Linked DNA regions of Homo sapiens: all the other regions are linked to region 6. The links are contacts of gene promoters, found by promoter capture Hi-C in blood cells and fetal thymus (Javierre and others, 2016). All regions are on one chromosome and are shown on one strand. Each heading gives the region's core, a stretch centred on a gene start or on the middle of the fragment in contact. The rest is flanking DNA. Distances are from core to core; before and after follow the strand shown.

Region 1 (3,070 bases), core at 485-2,984, 230 kb before region 6:
CTTTTTGTTGGTTTCCAAATCCACTGACACTTTTTAACCTCTCTCTTTATTTTCCTCAGGATTTTTAAGCCTCTTTTTCTGGTCCTTCATTATTTTTAAGCTGTTTCTCTTCATTTGTTAACATATTTTTATTTTACTTTTATCTTCTATTTATTCTCTAACATCTGTCACCTCAGTATTGATTTCTGTTTTTGCTTTATACCGATTCCTTTGACCCTCATGTAGCATTTGAATTCTATTACAAAGAAATATCAGATTTCATTTCAACTTTATTTCAAGGGAACCAACTTTTCATAATTTTGGTAGATATTATGTTGTATGTTTTCTATTTTGCTTTAGCTTTCTTTTTACTTTTGATATATGATGTTGCCTAAAACGAAATATTTAAGTAAATGTATTTCCATTCCTAGCTACCTATGTGTTTTAGGCAGATATGAGTTTTGAAATGTATTTGAAACCTTTTGGATCCTTTATATATGCTACATAGCTTTCATAGGACACCAAGCGACGCAATGTTTTACAGCCTTGTCTTGTATATTCTGTCCTATCCATTGTTACATGTCTGAGACCAAATTTGGCTGTTTTTATCATTTCTCTTAAACATCAGAACCTCATCTCCATCATTTTTCTGTAAACCTTGCTTTGAATTCTTCAGTCTCTCCTATCTTTAGTTATCTAATAACACATGCAATTTAATTCAGACTGATAAAGGATATTGTCTTAAATCTTTCTGCCTCTCTTTTGTCCTTACTGTGCCCCCAGTGACCAGCATAGGAATGGGCACAAAGCAGGCACCTGACTGTGGAGTGAATAAACCAATGCCTGGCAACATTTAGAATTTATAATCGGCAAATCCACTACTTAATTATATTGAGAGGATTAATTTAAAACAATCAACTTGAAAACAGTTAAAATGGTAGCTCAGTTCATTTACTGAAAACAAAGGAAGCATTTTAAACAATTCTCTTGGTCTTCGTAACCTTTCGGGACTAGCCCCCTAATTACCTGCAAGAATAGAAGAGCCCAGGGACCTCCTGAGAAGCCCAGTTTCCTCCGTGTTCCTTATGCTTTTTCCCTTCGTGGAAAAAAGTGATTGCACCTTTCTTTCCATTTCCTAATTCTACATCATGCCTTGTATTTAGCTGGAGACTCACTCAGAGTGGGAGAGCCTGAGAGAAGAGCTGGAGACAAGCAAGGTCTGCAGGGGATTCCAGGGCAGGCCGGCCCATGACCTGGCCAGCCCTGCCATGACCTGCTTTCCCACCCAGGTAAGCTGCTTACACTTCCGAGGTGAAACTATTAGAAAATTAAGAAAAAAAAATTAGACGTGTGTAAATTTAGGAGGCACAACATTTCCCTGGAGTTGAAGGGAACTATACTAAGTTCTACAGAACTTGAGTATTTGAAGATGCTTAAATTATCATTGTGCTCTATTCAGCCACAAGGATCTTGTGCTATAAATTTATCGTAGAATTTGCTGTTAAAACACACCCACACTAAAGAAGCCACCACATTACTCTATTTGTGACTTTTGTTGCAGAAATATTACTATACATTTATTTTTCATATTTCAGCTGTGAATTTTTAAAATCACATTCAAAGGCATGAAGAGTTAGGTAGTGAATTGTTTACTAAAGTGTCATTTTAAAAGAAATTCAAAAGTTTGTTTTACAAGTTTAAACATTTCATGTATACTAATCAGGGTCAGCCTTAATGAAGCTATGGTCTACTTAGAATCGAAACCTGCATATTAAGCTATTAAATGTTACTCAACAAAGTCACTGAAAATTTCTAGTGCCATAATCTGATGAAAACAGAAAAGTTATTTCTCCTCAATAGATTGTCAATGGTTATGGTAAAAAATTAACCAGTGAAATGTGTGGTTCCTTGGCACGACTGCAACACAATTCTGGGAAAATACTACAAGTCTCAAACTTTCCATTGTGATTCACTGAACTAAGGAAGCATTACTCAGTAAATTATTATGAAAATTTAGTAAAAAGTTAGGTGAAACTAGGTCCTGTTATCACATTAATTTAAAATATCAAATCGATTAAAGGTTTACATGTGGAAAATAAAAATATAAAACAAGACACATGAATGGGTAAAGATTTAGCTAAACGGTGAGCAAAGGCAATGAAGAAAACATGGAAAGTAAAATTAGTATTTGAAAACTGAAAACAATCTCTGAATAAAACAAATTTTTTCTAATTAGGAAATTTATGGTTCACATGACGAATCAAAGGCTGAGGATCGGTAATGTGTAAGATTCTCTTGCATATTCATAAGACAGACATGGCAATTTTTAAAATGACACAAACATGTTAGTAAACAATTTGTGGAAGACTTGTACATACAAAATAAGACAATGACAAAAAGCACAAAAATGTCCATTAATTTGTTGAATAACAGAGAGGCAAAAAAATGTGTGATTATCAGTGTTGCTGTGAGTCAGTGAAAACACCAGTGCGGCCTTTTGTGGTATGCCGGGGTAGATCACTGACGGGTACAACCCGAGTATATGAACATGAAAGGGACACTGTTTAATAAAAATGTAATAACCGATACAATAAAGGAATTCCTTACACAGATATTCATTATAGTATTGTTTTAGATTAGTAAAAAATTGGAAGAAATCTACATTGGAAATAAGAAAACTCAGATTCTGTTATTAAGGTAAATTGTGAAGTTATATTCAAAACAATATTTTTAAAAAGTAAACACTGAAAATATGTACACAAGAATATTTATGCAGATGTAGAGCTATATACAGCATGATTCTAATCTATAGTATTTTAATATATCTATGTATCTATATATTAAAAATATCATTTTCTCCCACAAAAAATAAGTATGTGAGATGGATATGTTAATTATCATGACATGGTCATTCCACAATGTGTACATGTATTGAAATATCTCACTGTACCCAAATATATATACAATTGTCAATTAAAAACAATTTTCAAAATCCTATTTTGAAAATTTTTATTCTGACTTGATCATTATACAATGTATATATGTGTCAAAACATCACCCCATACCCCATAAAAATATACAATTGTTATGA
Region 2 (2,906 bases), core at 284-2,783, 130 kb before region 6:
AATATAAACATAAGGCAGAATGTTGGGGTGATCAGACCCAACACCAGGTCACGGGAGTGAGAAAGTCTGGCAGAGTCAAAGGACTGAGAAAAAGACAGTTGGAGAAGTAAAGTGGGACCACGGGACCATCACAATTGTGGAGGCTGTGAAGGCCCGGAGCTCTGGGAGCCCAGTGCTATTTATTGGTAATCCAGCAAAGAAACAGGTGGTAAGAATGTGGAGGCTGAAAGGGCGTGTTGCATTAAGCACATGATTTACAGCTGTGATGGTTTAGCATCTGCTCTGCTACTTGAGAAAATGGAGAGCAGGTTCTTTTAACTCAAGGTACTGTTGATCCTGGGAGGGCAAGGAGCAAGGAGCAAGGAGCCAGCAAGTCTAGACACATTCCAGAGCTGCGAGCCCTGGATTCTGTCCAAGCCATGAGGGATTTTATGCCCTGGGCTTAGATTATGGTGCATCAGGGTAGCCTTCCACCCATTAGCACAGAGCTTGGTGTTCCAAAGACCACAAGGGGATTTAGACCCTGAACCCTGGACATGTTCCAGAGCTCTTTTACGTTATGTCAGATATGCAAGCCCCACCTCAGCTTCTCCCAACACTCAGCTTTTCCCAACACAGAGGAAGAAATCTGATATGCATTTGTCTCAGGTGGGCAGAAGAATGACTTTGAATTCTGCCCTTTGTCCCATACCTGTGAAGATACACTATCAATTTACATTTTCAGGCTAAAATTCAGCAGAACTATTTTAGGGTAAAGGAATTTCCTAATGTACAAATTGTGAAGGAGGTATGTAGCTTTTCTTTTCTTTTTTTTTTTTAATCTTTGAGGTTATCTTATTTAGGAATAAAATGGGAAACAAATTTCCCTGATGCAGTTCCCAGCTTGACTTTTCGCTTTTGCTTAGTGAGCCCGGAGTCCTGAGATTTATTTTCCTTTCACAGTTCCCATGTCAAAGTTGGACATGGATTTGCTGGAGTGGAGGCAAGAGGCACAGATACCAAAGGACCTTTGGGGCTGAGTGTTGGATGGGTCATCTACACAGATTTGAAAGGGGGCAGGCCTGGGGTTGGGAGAGCACCATGCTTTTGTCTTAGAGACCTGACCTCTGAGAAGGATCGTCATTGACCCGAACTGGGGTCTGCCCACCCAGCTGGTAAGACCAGATATATACACTGAGGTTTGCAGCAGTAAAAAGGAAGGCAGTTATTTGCAGAGCACCAAGCAAGGAGGACCAGGAAGCTAATGCTTAAATCCTGACCTCTGAGGTGGCTTGCAGGTAATGGTTTTTAAAAGCGGGGTAGGCCAGCGCGGTGGCTCACGCCTGTAATCCCAGCACTTTGGGAGGCCAAGGTGGGCAGATCAGCTGAGGCCGGGAGTTCAAGACCAGCCTGACCACCATGGAGATACCCCATCCTTACTAAAAATACAAAATCAGCTGGGTGTGGTGGCAGAGCCAGCTGTGGTGGCGGCGCCTGCAATCCCAGCTACTCAGGAGGAGGCTGAGGCAGGAAATCACTTGAACCTGGGAGGTGGAGGTTGCAGTGAGCAGAGATCGCACCATTGAGGCGGACGTTGCGGTGAGCCGGGGTCATATCATTGCACTCCACCCTGGGCAACAAGAGCGAAACACCATTAAAAAAAAAAGAAAAAAAAAAGCAGGGGTAAATTTCAGGAAAGCTACAGGCAAAGTTGTAAATCAATCCTGGAGGTTACACATTGGTTTTGACCTAAACGGGTGGGATATCTTGAAGTGGGGCTTACAGGTCGGGGTAGATTCTAAGATTTTCTGATTTGCAATGGTTAAAGAGTTTTGTTTAAAAATCAAACAAAAAAGAATATTAGTGCTGGCTCATGGGTATGACCTTCTCCAGGCCCCTCAGAAAGAAATTTCTAATGGCAATCACAGTTCAGTCCTTAGTTCTCCCTTATCTGAGGTCTGTGTGTCTGCAGTTCCATTTTGTGGGGCTCCAGGTTTCTGAAAACTAGCTCAGGAACATATGTTAAGATATTATCTTTAATTTCTATGGGGAGCCAAACATCTTCTGGCTCTAGTTTCTTTGGCTATTGTTTTAAACTACTATTACCTTCTTGCTTATCAAATTGTTCATTTACTTTTCTAAGCTAGCTAGGTGCCTGGAATTTTCCTTGAAGGTACTCAAGAATTTCTTTTATGTCCATGCCTGGGGGACCCAGAGACCCCTAAGAGGGGTCCCTGCTCTGTCTCAGGATCCAAGAGCCAGAGCAATGAGGAGCCAGAAATTAGCTGCGGTCATCAGCCTCTGTCTGTGGAAAGCGAAGAACAGCCTCTACCTGAGATTACGACAGGGAAAATCGTTCCTCCCTTCATCTTTAAGCCCCTCAAGCACGCTGCATTATGTTCAGTTACCTGGAGCAATGGTCTACATTATATTTCGTACTCTTTTCTGCAGGAGGCAACAGAAGATTGGTTCTGCATTTTTGTCAAATTTCTTGTAGGGCCAAGCGCAGTGTGGCTCACACCTGTTATCCCAATGCTTTGGGAAGCCGAGGCAGGAGGATCACTTGAGGCCAGGAGTTTGAGACCAGCCTGGGCAACATAGACACCCTGTCTCTACCAAAAACATAAAAATAAAAAATTAGTCAGGCATCATGGCGTGTGCCTGAAATCCTAGCTACTTGGGAGACTGAAACAGGAGGATCGTTTGAGCCCAGGAATTTGAGTTTACAGTAAGCTATGATTGTACCACTGCACCCCAGCCTAAGCAACAGAATGAGACCCTGTCTTTAAAAAAAAAAAAAATCTAGTAGGACATCATCCATAATGTTCAGAGTTCCATATAAAAAGATTCCTATAATCTCTCTCAAAAGTTTGTTCTGTTGATGATCTAAACTTGCTTTGTGTGTGCTAATTCCCTCTCAAAGACAG
Region 3 (2,999 bases), core at 500-2,999, 150 kb before region 6:
TTTAACCGTAAAGCATATTGAATTAAATATGTATAAAGATTTCCTGCTTCCAAGTCTGTCTATTTTAAATTCACACATGTGGTATGATGAGTAATAAGATTAAAAGAGACCTGAATTCTTGTCATGTTCTGACACAGCTGTTTTAAGTTGGGGAACCTACAAATACATTTTAATTTCAATTTACTGAAATGTAAAACTACACTCAACAAGATGGCCTCTGCTGCCCCACCTCTGAGAGCATTTGTATCTAATCTATATGAAGCCTTTTTACTTCAGTGTAGTTTTCTCTGAGTGGCCTGATGCTGAAGAGCTGCCCTTTATCCCACTTATATCAAGCAAAAGAGCAACACTGAGGAACAAAACCAATACACACTGCACCATGAGCTGCTTCCACTCTAGTCTCAAACTAAAAATAGATCTCTCCAAAACTGATTAAAATGATAAAAATTCAAGCAAACTGAATGCACTATTTTGTTTGCTTGTTTCATTGGAAAAAAATATGAAACATAATTACTAAGAGAACAATTAAATCACTTTAAGCAAACATGTCTTGATTTTTTTCTCATAAAAAATTTGAAATGATTGCTTACATAAATCTCATGTAGACAAATTCAATTTCCTTATTGGGTAAATATCTGAGAAATACAAGACCAGCAATACCTTGATTAAATAACATGTAGCTTCTCAATATGTATTCACTGTCTGGACCAATGATGATAAAGAAACAGTTCTGAAGTTTTCCTCTGTGTCTCACCAGAAGAAGTGACCCAATTTAACATGCAAACTCAGTGATAGAGAAAACCTGATGTATAATATATCAAGGAGACAATCTTCTCTGTTAGTTTCCCATAGAGACTGGGCCGCCACAGTCTGGAGGAGATTGGCTTCCAGAAGGAAGCCTGGGGGACGCTGGTCTCAGGAGGATGCTGCCTCCTCTGGGTTAAATTGTAAATTACCTGCTGAAACAGAAAGCAGAATATGGAGTAGGTGCCAACTGAACTCAGAGTCCGTGAGGAAGTGATGAGCATGAGATATAGAGATTTTCATTAAGAGAGTGAGGAGAGTAAACAGTGAAAAAAGTAAAGGATTTATATTTTCACATTTCATAAAATAATCTTCGATAAAGTACAAAACCCAGACATTTAAGTACTCAGAAAATAATAAATTGTTTTACTTCATCACTATGCCTAGTCAGTATGCCACATGAGAGCAGTTAAGTGCGTATACTCAGTTTACTTTGCAGTTACAGCAGCCTGTTTCTGTATTGCACATAGACTCTCAGAAAATTATTGGCTTAATGGAGACAATCATCATGCTTCTCATCTTCCTCCAAATCTATTTGTTCCACAACCAGTCACAGACCAAGAGGATGGGTAGATCTCACTAAATACGATCATTTGAAAATTAGAAGTGAATAGAAAAATCTGGCAGAAATTTAGGAGATATATATTTTATCATTTCATTTTTCAAATGAGGAAAGTGAGTCTTAATATAAAAACTTAAGACAAATTAAACTTAGCAGACTTTATTTGATCAAAGAATGATTCATTATCAGATCGCACTACAGATCAGAAGAAATTCAGAGAGCTCTGCCCAGCAGTGTGAACAAGCTTTTATGGGCCAGACATAGGAGCAAAGTAGAAAAATCACCTGCTTGCCTACAGCTAGACATCCGTCTTGTTTGAACATGGTGTTATTTAATTTTGGCAATACTATAAGGCAGTAGAAAAATATTGCACATATGTACATACATCCAGATATAGATAGACATGTAACAGAAACATTACAAATTTTTAGCCATGTGCCAGGTACAATAATACAAATCTCACTAATTTATTAAAGAATATCTGGATCTAAATTGTTTTTGGCTAATGCCACTTAAATGGCTAAAGCTTCTTACTAATATTTGTGAAAAAGATCATTAATGTTTTTTTATTTGCTCAGTTTCCAAATATCTATTTTTCTTACTTCTACTTCTGATGAGTTATCTACCCTAAACTTGCATTTTAAATAGATACCTATTAAACTCTAGAGAAGACTGTGTAGAAAATTTATATCTCAAAAGCACAGAGCTTGGACTTCCAGCTTAAATGCTTTAATTTGCCCAAACCAAGAAAGAAAGATGTAAAGACCCAGTTAGGGCAAGACAGCTAGGAAAAGCACTTTAAAGGCAAGGCTTCTGTAGATTTAAGCCAACGCTTTCTTCCTTATCAGAGTTTCCAGTGTTCTCTGTCCAGAGAGGTAGACCTTCTTACAAATGGAGATTCCCTTTAGGGATGTAAATTTCTCTTACAAAGAGTCCTCAAAATAAGCAGGTGAAAATAGTTTTTCTGCCAAAAAGTTGTATTTTGGAGATTTATTCTGCTAAATCAGTGGTTTTCCAACCCACCTTCTGTCTTTTAACTAAAATACTAAGTGGGTGGAACCCACTGAAGACTAGAACAAATATTTTGTGTGCCTGACTCACCATGGTTACTTCTAATCTTGCTCTATAATCACAGACTGGTACAACTTTTCTCTCCTGTTTTGTTTTCAAGATTGCAAGACTGAATAATATTTCCCCCCACCCACCAGAAAGAGTTTGGGGCATAGCAAAGATCATGACAACAAGAAAGAATTGGCAGAGTATGTGTTTAGCGGGAAGTTTCATAAGAGGTGTTTCAGTTGACTGCAGGGTTCCCATGGGAGAAGCAGGATTAAAGAGAGAAAACAGAAAAGACTCATTCTTACAAATGTTTTTCTAAATATGATTCAACTGTCAGTCAGATAGCTTCAGGTATGGGGACTTCCACATTTGATTTGAAACTTCCATTTTTTTTCTCTGGGGGATTGGTTGATTATTGCCCAGGGAGTGTAGCCCTTGGGGGCTTTCTCTAGTAGGTAGACAGGCCAGGTCCATCAGATGACTGGTATAGAAATGAAAAATTTCTTATGCAAAGGCCTGACTATTTAAAATACAGGTAAACTTCTTGGGACACGCGGTCCTTTACTTTTGAGGC
Region 4 (3,121 bases), core at 170-2,669, 170 kb before region 6:
GGGGTTTTATGGCACTCTACTTGCAAATGTTTGTGTAAATGTGAAGGTTTGAGAGCATGCTTGGTTTTCTAGTACTCTGGCTGGTTATGTATTATAGTCTGTTCTGGCACATTTTTAAACTGATGGGTAAATTCAGAGCTCAAAGTTGACCTGCAACTATAGAATTAAATATAGCATCTCCTAAATTCTCAATTTCTCTATTTTATTTTTCTGTTTTAAATGTACTGTTGCTTTTCTACTGGTTTTGAGATAAAACCCATTGTTTAAATTAAACCATCTTTTGCAAGCTGGTGAATCTGTATTGCTGTCTTGTGACTAGAGTTCTGAAATAAAACCTATGGGATCTTTGTATCTGTGTATCTATGTTGAGTTGTGTTTATGTTACATGTACATGTATTTTCTTATATGTTGTAACTGCAAGGTATCAAATGGGCTTAAAAATAAAGGATTACTCATAAAGTCCAAATGCTCTTCAAGTTCACATGACAAGTAAATCTTCAATAAATAAGCTGGCTTTATAATTATTAGTAAAATAAAATTTGAAATGCCTTCAGAATTGTCAGCATACATTTTTGTCTGGATTTATTGGTGAAATAGTTTTATATTTAGCGGTGTTTGTATTATAAGGTACCAAACTTTGTCATGAAGGTTATAAAACTTTAAAACCCATCCCTTAATGATCATTGTGTAATTTTTTATAAATAAGACATTTAATACTGTTGATTTATTGAAAATAGGTAAAACCTTAGTGGTTGGCCAAAAAAAAATCAAATAAACATATATTTAACATTTGGTTCTTATGTAGGTAAACACCTGAAATATTCACAGCCTATAAGAATGGTTAGCTGAAAAATAACTTTAATGATGACTAGCTTTGTCTAATATGTCAGTTTTTGTAAGTAACCTAGGAAAACTGTTTTAAAAAATAAATTAGGTAGCTTTAATGGCATAAATGCTTATAAATGAACTTGTCATATAATTTAAAATCTTAAAGTTAAAGTAAATAATACTCATTAAGTGTCTGGATCATTTCTAATTTAAAAAACAGAAAAACATATTTCTAAAATAATATAAAATGGTTCTCATCTATAAAATACTGATATATGACAGACAATTCAAGATTTACTACTTCCTAGGTTTTCACAAAAATTTAAGGTTCTAAGAATAAAAATTCTAGTTAATATATAATTCTGTATTTAGAGAGTACCAAAGTAAATATTTTTATGGAAAAGAAATTATAATAAAGACATAAAAATATGTTCTTATTAAAAGGAAAATAATCTTTGTCAAATTCAAAGGCTATTATACAAATCCAAAGATGTATTTATTTTTAAAAATGGGTAAAAAGTATAATTTTGTATGAGAAAGAGACTTGTATAGTAAATGTAGTTCTAAAATAAAACAACTCATTATTTAAGAGGGAAATTTTGGACAAAACAGAAAGTCCAAGTATGTCATAAATAGTCTGTGTAAGATATGATAAGGTTTATAAAGAGAATTTATGAAAGAAAAGTTTTTGGAGACTAAAGCTACTCTTTCTTAGATGGGAGGCTCAAGTAACTCCATCTTGAATGGTGATCTGCCCTATTGGCTTCTGATTAACTCCAGGGGGGAAGGCCTTTAAGATTTCCAGTTTATTTATTGCTCCTCGTGTAAGAACAGGTACTTATTATAAATCCTGCCCTTAGGTCAAACAACTTTTATGTTATCATACTTCAATTGTCCTACACATGCCTTCTGAATCATTCCTTCCCTATGGCATATAAGTCCTGGGTTTTGGGGTTAATGGCACAGGAATTTGCCATCTCATCTCACTGCTGCCTGAGACACACACATGGCTTCTGTTCATAAGTCCCTATTAATTGTTTCTGCCTAAGAAACTGTATTTATCAGCCTCTATCTTCAGCATCTCAGCTTCCTCCAACTTTGGATAGGTTTGTATAGACCTGCTCATTGTGAAACAATTTTGTATGTGACTAAGTTGTCGATAACTTAAAAAGAATTATTTGTATTAGTGTTTCTAGAGATTGGGATTTAATATTAAAAATACACAAATAGAAAAACTACCTATAGGGTACTATGCTTATTACTTGGAAGATGAAATAATCTGTACACCAATCCCTTGTGACATGCAATTTACCTATATGACACCTACACAAGTACTTCTGAACCTATGTAATTGGATTGTTTGTAATGCAAAGGATAAATGCTTAAGAAGATAAATGCCGCATCCTCCATGATGGGCTTATTTCACACTGCATGCCTGTATCAAAACATCTCATGTATTCCACAAATATATACACCTAACATATACCCACAGAAATTTTGAAAAATAATTTGTGGATTAAAACCAAAATGACACTCTAAAAAAATTAATTTTTTATGTAGCAGTATTCAGATGTGGGGCCTTTAAGAGGTGATTTGGTTGTGAGGCCTCTGCTCTCATAAATGAATTAATTAATTCATGGATTAATGGATTATCATAGAAGTGAGATTAACTTTATAAGAAGAAGAGAGATCTTGGCTAGCACATCAGACTGCTCAGCTCCCTCATCATGTAATGTCCTGTGCCACCTCATGCTCTGCAGGGAATCCACACTGGCAGAAGTGTCCCCACTGGTCCACCTGAGGCTCTGCAGGGAGTCCCCGCTGGCAGAAGGGTCCCCACTGGTCCACCTTAGGTTCTGCAGGGAGTCTGCGCTGGCAGGAGGGTCCCCACTGGTCCGCCTGAGGCTGTGCAGGGAGTCCGTGCTGGCAGGAGGGTCCCCACTGGTCTGCCTGAGGCTCTGCAGGGAGTCCCCGCTGGCAGGAGGGTCCCCACTGGTCTGCCTGAGGCTCTGCAGGGAGTCCACGCTGGCAGGAGGGTCCCCACTGGTCCGGCTTAGGCTCTGCAGGGAGTCCCTGCTGGCAGGAGGGTCCCCACTCATCCACCTGAGGCTCTGCAGGGAGTCCCCGCAGGCAGGAGGGTCCCCACTGGTCCCCCTGATGCTCTGCAGGGAGTCCCTGCTGGCAGGAGGGTCCCCACTCATCCACCTGAGGCTCTGCAGGGAGTCCCTGCAGGCAGGAGGGTCCCCACTGGTCCCCCTGATGCTCTGCAGGGAGTCCGTGCTGGCAGGAGGGT
Region 5 (2,757 bases), core at 156-2,655, 210 kb before region 6:
TCTGCAGTAGAGGTGACACTTCTGAGGGTACCGTCAGGATGAAGCTTCCAGGCTAGAGGCTAGAGAAGAACAGGCAGACCAACATGCACATCATGAAGCAAAAACCATGGCTGCATTTCCCTGTCAGAGAACAGCTCCTTCTATATTGCGTCTATGGTTCATCATGCTGCTGGAGGTTATGGTAACTGCGTGATACAATTGCTGTATGCTACACCAAGAATGGGGTTTTAACCATATCTGTTCTGTCCATGCTGCATTTCTTGTATCCAGAAAGTTATCCAGCCCATAGTAGGGTTAAGTAAATACTAGTTGGAAAAAAGGGTGATTCATTGACCAAATGGATAAAGGGGAGTGAAGTAAATCACTGAAGAAATGAAGGGTTAGGATAACTATTAGGGAACGTTTTATTCACGAAGCCCCATGTTTCTGTTCTATTTCTTTTTAATTATTTGTATAAGTTTAAGGACGACAAGTGCAGTGTCATGACATGGATGTATCGCATAGTGGAGTCTTGTCTTTTAGGGTAACCGTAAGTCAAATAGCGTAGGTTGTGCTCACATTACTAATTTCTCACCCCTCGCTCCGCTTTCACCCCCTACTCTTCCAAGCCTTCGATGCCTATTATTCCACTGTTTATGTCTAAAGTTGGGACTCCTCACTGTTCTTTGTGCTGTTTTGCTAACCTTTTTGCAGATCTTTCTTCAGATAAATTAGAAGGTAAAAAAAACTATTTGCAAAAAGCTCCCAGAATTAAGTTTTTAAAAAGCAGTTTATGACACTAAGCTGACTCCCTGCATTGCTCTCCATTGCTACTGTAGGTTTGGGAAATGGGCAGGGAAATTAAAGGAAAATGTTGGTAGGTTGAAGCTATGTCAGCAGCAGACACACAGGAGCAGGGTTCACCAAGCTACACGTCTGCCAGCACTTACCAGAACTGAGGCCAGAGCCAAACTCAGGCTTAGAAAGCTACGGAGCAGATACATGGAAATGTGACAGCAACAGGCCACCGTTTAAGAAGGAATTTTATCTTTAACATACCAGGTGGAAGATAGATTTAACTGTTAGACAAGAGAAAGAACCATACATGTAGTAAGAATCGCCCCCCTCTCCCCGCCAGCACCTCCTCCCCGGCATGGTAGGCCTCAGTGGCTTGAGTCTCAAACATTTGTGTAAAAATGAAAGTCCGATCAACGGGGGAGCCCGGATGCTGCAGGGTTTCCCCCCATTCACATGTTGCTAGACACACCTTGGCTCCACTATCTAGTGTTGCCAGATTTAGCAAAGATACAGGATTCTCAGCTATGTTTGACTTTCAGATAATCAAAAAATGTTTTAGTGCAAGTTCATAATGTTCTTAACACCAAAAAAAAGGGTTCACTGTACATCTGAAATTCAAATTTAGCTGGTTGTCCTTTACCATGCTGAAGTCATATCTGGTTTCACAAAGGTACCAGAATTGTTATGACCTTGAAAAGTGACCAGTAGAATCAGTACAAATAGAGTCTAAACAAAAAAGTTATTTACTAACATCAAAATTAAATTGGCTTACTCCCAATTTCCCTCTGATTGATATATTCATATTACTGTGAAAGGGGCTAAGGACTGTGGCCTCCTCTGTCAGGCCTCCCAGAAATACTCCGTGGTCAAAACTCTACTTCAGTGAGTCTTAGCCTCCTGATCCACTCCTGATCGTTTCAATTCTATTCCATTTCCCAAGGATAGTGAACACAAATATTGCCTAAAAATATATTCTGCTAATTCAAAGTCCAAAAATATAAAAGAAACATTCTATATTAGACTCCAAAAACTTCCTAATAGAATTAACCCACACTAAGGAGAAGAGAGCACATCTCTTTGTCATATTAAACAAATTCAAACATTTTATCCAAAATGTATAAAACAGTAAAAACAGGCCAGGTGTGGTGGTTCATGCCTGTAACCCCAGCACTTAGGGAGGCCAGGGCGGAAGGATCACTTGAAGCCAGGAGTTTGAGATGAGCCTGGGTAACAGAGCTCGTCTTTATAAAAAACTAGCCAGGCGTGGTGGTGCACGTCAGTCGTCCCAGCTACTCAGGAGGTCGAGTTGGGAGAATTGCTTGAGGCTAGGAGTTTGAGGTTACAGAGAGCTATGATTGTGCCACTGCACTCCAGCCTGGGTGACAGAGCAAGACCCTGTTTCTAAAAAAGAAATGAATAAGTAAAACTTATTTATTAACAATTAAAAACCTATAATATTTCTCATGTCCATAGCTAGTAGGTGCCTGGCTTAATCCATCATGACACATTTTACCCTGGTTGTTCCACGAACTTTCCCACGATCTCCCTGCTGTCTCATGAATCCCTCCAAGTCTAGTCTCAGCACAACCATCAAAGTCACATCGGGACCCGTGCATCCCGCCACGCCACTTTCTGCTTGAAACCCTGCAGTTGTGCTTTACATCATACATTAAGGCCCATCACGTTCTGAACATTTTGTCTTCTGAAATGATCTCCCGCCGACTCCAGTCTGTCTGTCCCTGGGCTGCAGCGACGGTGGCTTCCTTGTCCTCTGTCCCCACTTTGCAAGAGCCCTGAGCCCAGGCCATTGCCTCTGCTGCTCCCCTTGCCTGGGGCTCCTCCTCCAACCGTGCAAGGCCATCCATCCCCTCATGTACTTCAGGGCTTTGCTCAAAAGCCACCTGCTCAGAGGTCCTATGACTATTTTTCTTCACTTTTCTTAACACCGTCTGACACTACCTTGTGTTTTGTGTCTCTTCA
Region 6 (2,910 bases), core at 82-2,581:
CTAAATTAGTACATTTCTCTGGCTTAAAGACTCTGGAAATATCCTCAACTAATCATTCTCTATATAATACTACCTTATCTGTGTATGATTCTTTACAATAAAAATATATATACTTCAAGCGCATTTTCCATGTCTCTCTCAATGTTATCCCTTCCTGGTTCAGGCCCTGATCACTCCAGACCTGCATCCTGTGTCTTGCTTTTCAGCTTTCTTGCCTGCTGCTACCAGATTTGTCTTCCTTAATCCGTGTTGTCATATGCGGGTCAGCAAACACTCATTGATCATCTGTGGCGTGCTGGCCCTCTGCTCATGCTTCAAGGGATCAATTGTTCATGAGTAGGACAAGGCCTGTCCCTTAAGCTATGGGGGAACAGTATTCATCTGACTATAACAACAGTATCAACATGCGGGAGGTTGCGCTGCAGCATAGATATGTCCCCAGGACTGAGGACAGAGAGGGGCATTCTAGCATAGGTTTATGGAGATGGCATTTGACTAAGGTTTTACAAATTAAAACAGAGAAGAGGGTAAGAGTTTTCCAGGCCAAGCATGGCAGGTCGAAGTACACTAATTAGGGGACCCCCTGAGCAGAGCTCAGAAGAGTGGTACTAAGTGACCTCCAAAGGAAGATTACAGCAGTAAAGGACCTTGAGGGCCATCCCTGGGCGTCTGTTCTGATGATATAGGCACACTAAAGGATGGCCAGGTTCCCAAAATGCATTTCCGGAAAGGAATACTAGTAGCATTTCCTAGTAGAAGACATTAGGGTCAACATTTGGACAGGCAGTTCAACCAGGAAGCTCATGGAGAGGCAGCTGGCAAGCCGACCAGGAGTAACCCCTATCCCTGGCATTGCGACTTTGGGCGTATCATTAACTTGTGGGGTCCTTACCTAAAATACAGGATAAATGCTCATATTTCCCCTGGCAGGGTTGTGGTGAGGGTTGAGAGATAATAGCTATCCAGTCTGGCCTCACTTAATAAGAAGGCGCTAACTTAACTACGGGGATGGCTGCCGCGGCCCCGTCCGCGCCGGGCACCGGCTACCGCGCCGGAAGCACCGAAGGGTACACCTGTCTGTGTCCCGCCAGCGGCCGCGGGAAGAGCTGCTGGAAGACTAGACGGTGGACCGCCTAGCTCCCGGGACTCCGCGGCTGGGGGCTGAGGCGCGCGCAGGGATCGGCGCCCTTTCCTCTGATTGGGCGGGACGAGGCCCAGGGGTGGGCCAACAGACAAAGCGGGAGGCAGGAATTGGTTAAGCCAGAAGAGAGGGCGGGGCCTTGGCCCGCGCGGGAGGCGGGAGTGGAGTCCCCCCGCAGGCTTTCTCTTTTAGCCCCGCCTGCTTCCCGGCTCCAGCTGGGGCCGGAGAGGCTGAGTGGTTGGTACGCTGCTCGCTGGCCTCCCAGTCTTCCCAGCAACCGGTGACACTGCCCGCGCCAGACTGACCACTAGCCGACGCGGGCGAGAGGGACAGGAGCGTGACCTCCCCATCCCGAGGGGCCGGACGCTCGGGCGCCTCCCCGCTCCCCCCACTCGGAGGCCGCGCGCGCCGTTAGCCCCTTCCTCGCTCCCCCGCCCCAGTCCCGCAGTCCGGGAGGCGGGGGTCGGCAGCCGGCTGAGTGGGAACCGCGCGGTGTCTGAGGAGGCAGTCGGCGACCGGTGAGGGGACTGAAGGGCAGGGGAGGGCAAGGGTGGCTCGGGGCAGCAGTCCTCAGCTGTGGCTAGTCTTCTCCCATCTGCCTCGGGCGACTGGTGTCTGCGGCGGTCGGGAGCGCCGCCCGGGCTGCGAGTGACGCGGGGATACTGCGGGGCGAGCGATTGGCCGGACACGTCCGCGCGGCCTGCTCCTCCCAGGCCTTCCCCTCCGCCTGTCCTCGCTGGTCCGCCTCGGGTGACCTTTTCGGGGCTGGCGTCACCACGACAAACGTCGCCAGGCTGAGCCGACTTAAGGGGGCAACGGCCGCCACCGGGTTCTGGCAGCGTTAAACGTTCCCCACTACGTTTTTGGTGCCCGGTCTCGCCCTCCAAGTCGGCTGGCGCCACGGGCAAGGGGCTAGGGTAGGCTCGGGGTTGGGAAGGGGCTCGCTCAAAGAAAGTTTGCCCAGCAACTTGTGACGCGCGCCGACTGAGGCGCCCCAGGATTGGCTGCGCTGCTGTGGGCCACGGAAAGCGACCTGTTCAGGTGCCGTGTTCCGCATTCGGCGAATAGTTGTGCTTCGCTCTTAAGTACCAGGCACCAAGTCCCCAGATGAGTAGCCAGCTTCCCTTCTTTCATCTTGGAGCCCACAGTTCGCGCAAGTGGAGCTATGGAAGGCCCATGCTGTGCTGTTCTAATCATGTGAGGGATTCTTAGGGGTTGAGGGGGAAGGACTGAAAACGGCTGCAGACCGTTTAGGATGCCTGGAGTGGAGACAGGAGTTAAGCCCCTTACTCAGAGTCGCTCTTAAGAACTGCCCAGGGCCGGGCACAGTGGCTCATGCCTGTTATCCTAGCACTTTGGGAGGCCAAAGTGGGAGGCTCTCTTGAGCTCGGGAGTTCAAGACCAGCCTGGGCAACATGGTGAGAACCCTCGTCTCTACAAAAAAAATAATGATAATAATAATTAGCCGGGTGTGGTAGCACCTGCTCATAGTCCCAGCTCCGCAGGAGGCTGAGGCTGGAGGGTTGCTTGAGTCCAGGAGGGCGAGGCTGCAGTGAGACAGTGATCAAATCACTGCATTCCAAGCTGGGTGACAGCAAGACCCTGTCTCAAAAAACAAACAAACAACAACAACAAGAAGGACTGTCCTAGGCAGAGTAAATCCTAAGCACCGGGCAACCGCAATTCTCAGTGTTAGCAATTTTTTTTTTTTTTTTTTTTTTTTGAGACGGAGTCTTGCTCTGTCGTCCAGGCTGGAGTACAGTGGCGCG

Evidence for each region. The method cuts DNA at HindIII sites, captures the fragments that hold promoters and counts their contacts. A CHiCAGO score of 5 or more calls a contact.
Region 1: a fragment that was not itself captured here is called in contact with the fragment with the promoter of ZNF672 in region 6 in 1 of 17 cell types (naive B cells); the score reaches 5.6 in naive B cells.
Region 2: a contact is called between a fragment that was not itself captured here and the fragment with the promoter of ZNF672 in region 6, in 5 of 17 cell types (neutrophils, monocytes, M0 macrophages and 2 more). The highest score is 9.2, in neutrophils.
Region 3: a contact is called between a fragment that was not itself captured here and the fragment with the promoter of ZNF672 in region 6, in 1 of 17 cell types (naive B cells). The highest score is 6.1, in naive B cells.
Region 4: a fragment that was not itself captured here is called in contact with the fragment with the promoter of ZNF672 in region 6 in 1 of 17 cell types (total B cells); the score reaches 5.9 in total B cells.
Region 5: a contact is called between a fragment that was not itself captured here and the fragment with the promoter of ZNF672 in region 6, in 2 of 17 cell types (naive B cells and M0 macrophages). The highest score is 6.3, in naive B cells.

What each region holds. Positions count from the first base shown.
Region 1 is chr1:248,608,599-248,611,668 of GRCh38, forward strand. No RefSeq gene overlaps it. Among named protein-coding and RNA genes, the nearest start is that of OR2T10, 12 kb to the left of the region's middle. The HindIII fragment of the contact is 6,444 bases long and covers 1-3,070 here.
Region 2 is chr1:248,704,348-248,707,253 of GRCh38, forward strand. No RefSeq gene overlaps it. Among named protein-coding and RNA genes, the nearest start is that of OR14I1, 3.0 kb to the left of the region's middle. The HindIII fragment of the contact is 9,630 bases long and covers 1-2,906 here.
Region 3 is chr1:248,686,106-248,689,104 of GRCh38, forward strand. The region is part of intron 3 of OR14I1 (olfactory receptor family 14 subfamily I member 1); the gene reads right to left. Among named protein-coding and RNA genes, the nearest start is that of OR14I1, 15 kb to the right of the region's middle. RefSeq lists enhancers at 683-882, 2,501-2,550. The HindIII fragment of the contact is 282 bases long and covers 1,609-1,890 here.
Region 4 is chr1:248,668,718-248,671,838 of GRCh38, forward strand. No RefSeq gene overlaps it. Among named protein-coding and RNA genes, the nearest start is that of OR2T27, 15 kb to the left of the region's middle. The HindIII fragment of the contact is 4,700 bases long and covers 1-3,121 here.
Region 5 is chr1:248,627,214-248,629,970 of GRCh38, forward strand. OR2T11 (olfactory receptor family 2 subfamily T member 11) reads right to left here. Exons shown (of 2, transcript NM_001001964.2): 2 at 1-59. Among named protein-coding and RNA genes, the nearest start is that of OR2T11, 6.5 kb to the right of the region's middle. The HindIII fragment of the contact is 2,727 bases long and covers 43-2,757 here.
Region 6 is chr1:248,836,893-248,839,802 of GRCh38, forward strand. It overlaps ZNF672 (zinc finger protein 672), which reads left to right and starts at 1,332. Exons shown (of 4, transcript NM_024836.3): 1 at 1,332-1,659. RefSeq lists enhancers at 1,266-1,767, 1,768-2,267, 1,965-2,234, 2,575-2,654 and a silencer at 1,275-1,674. The HindIII fragment of the contact is 11,934 bases long and covers 1-2,910 here.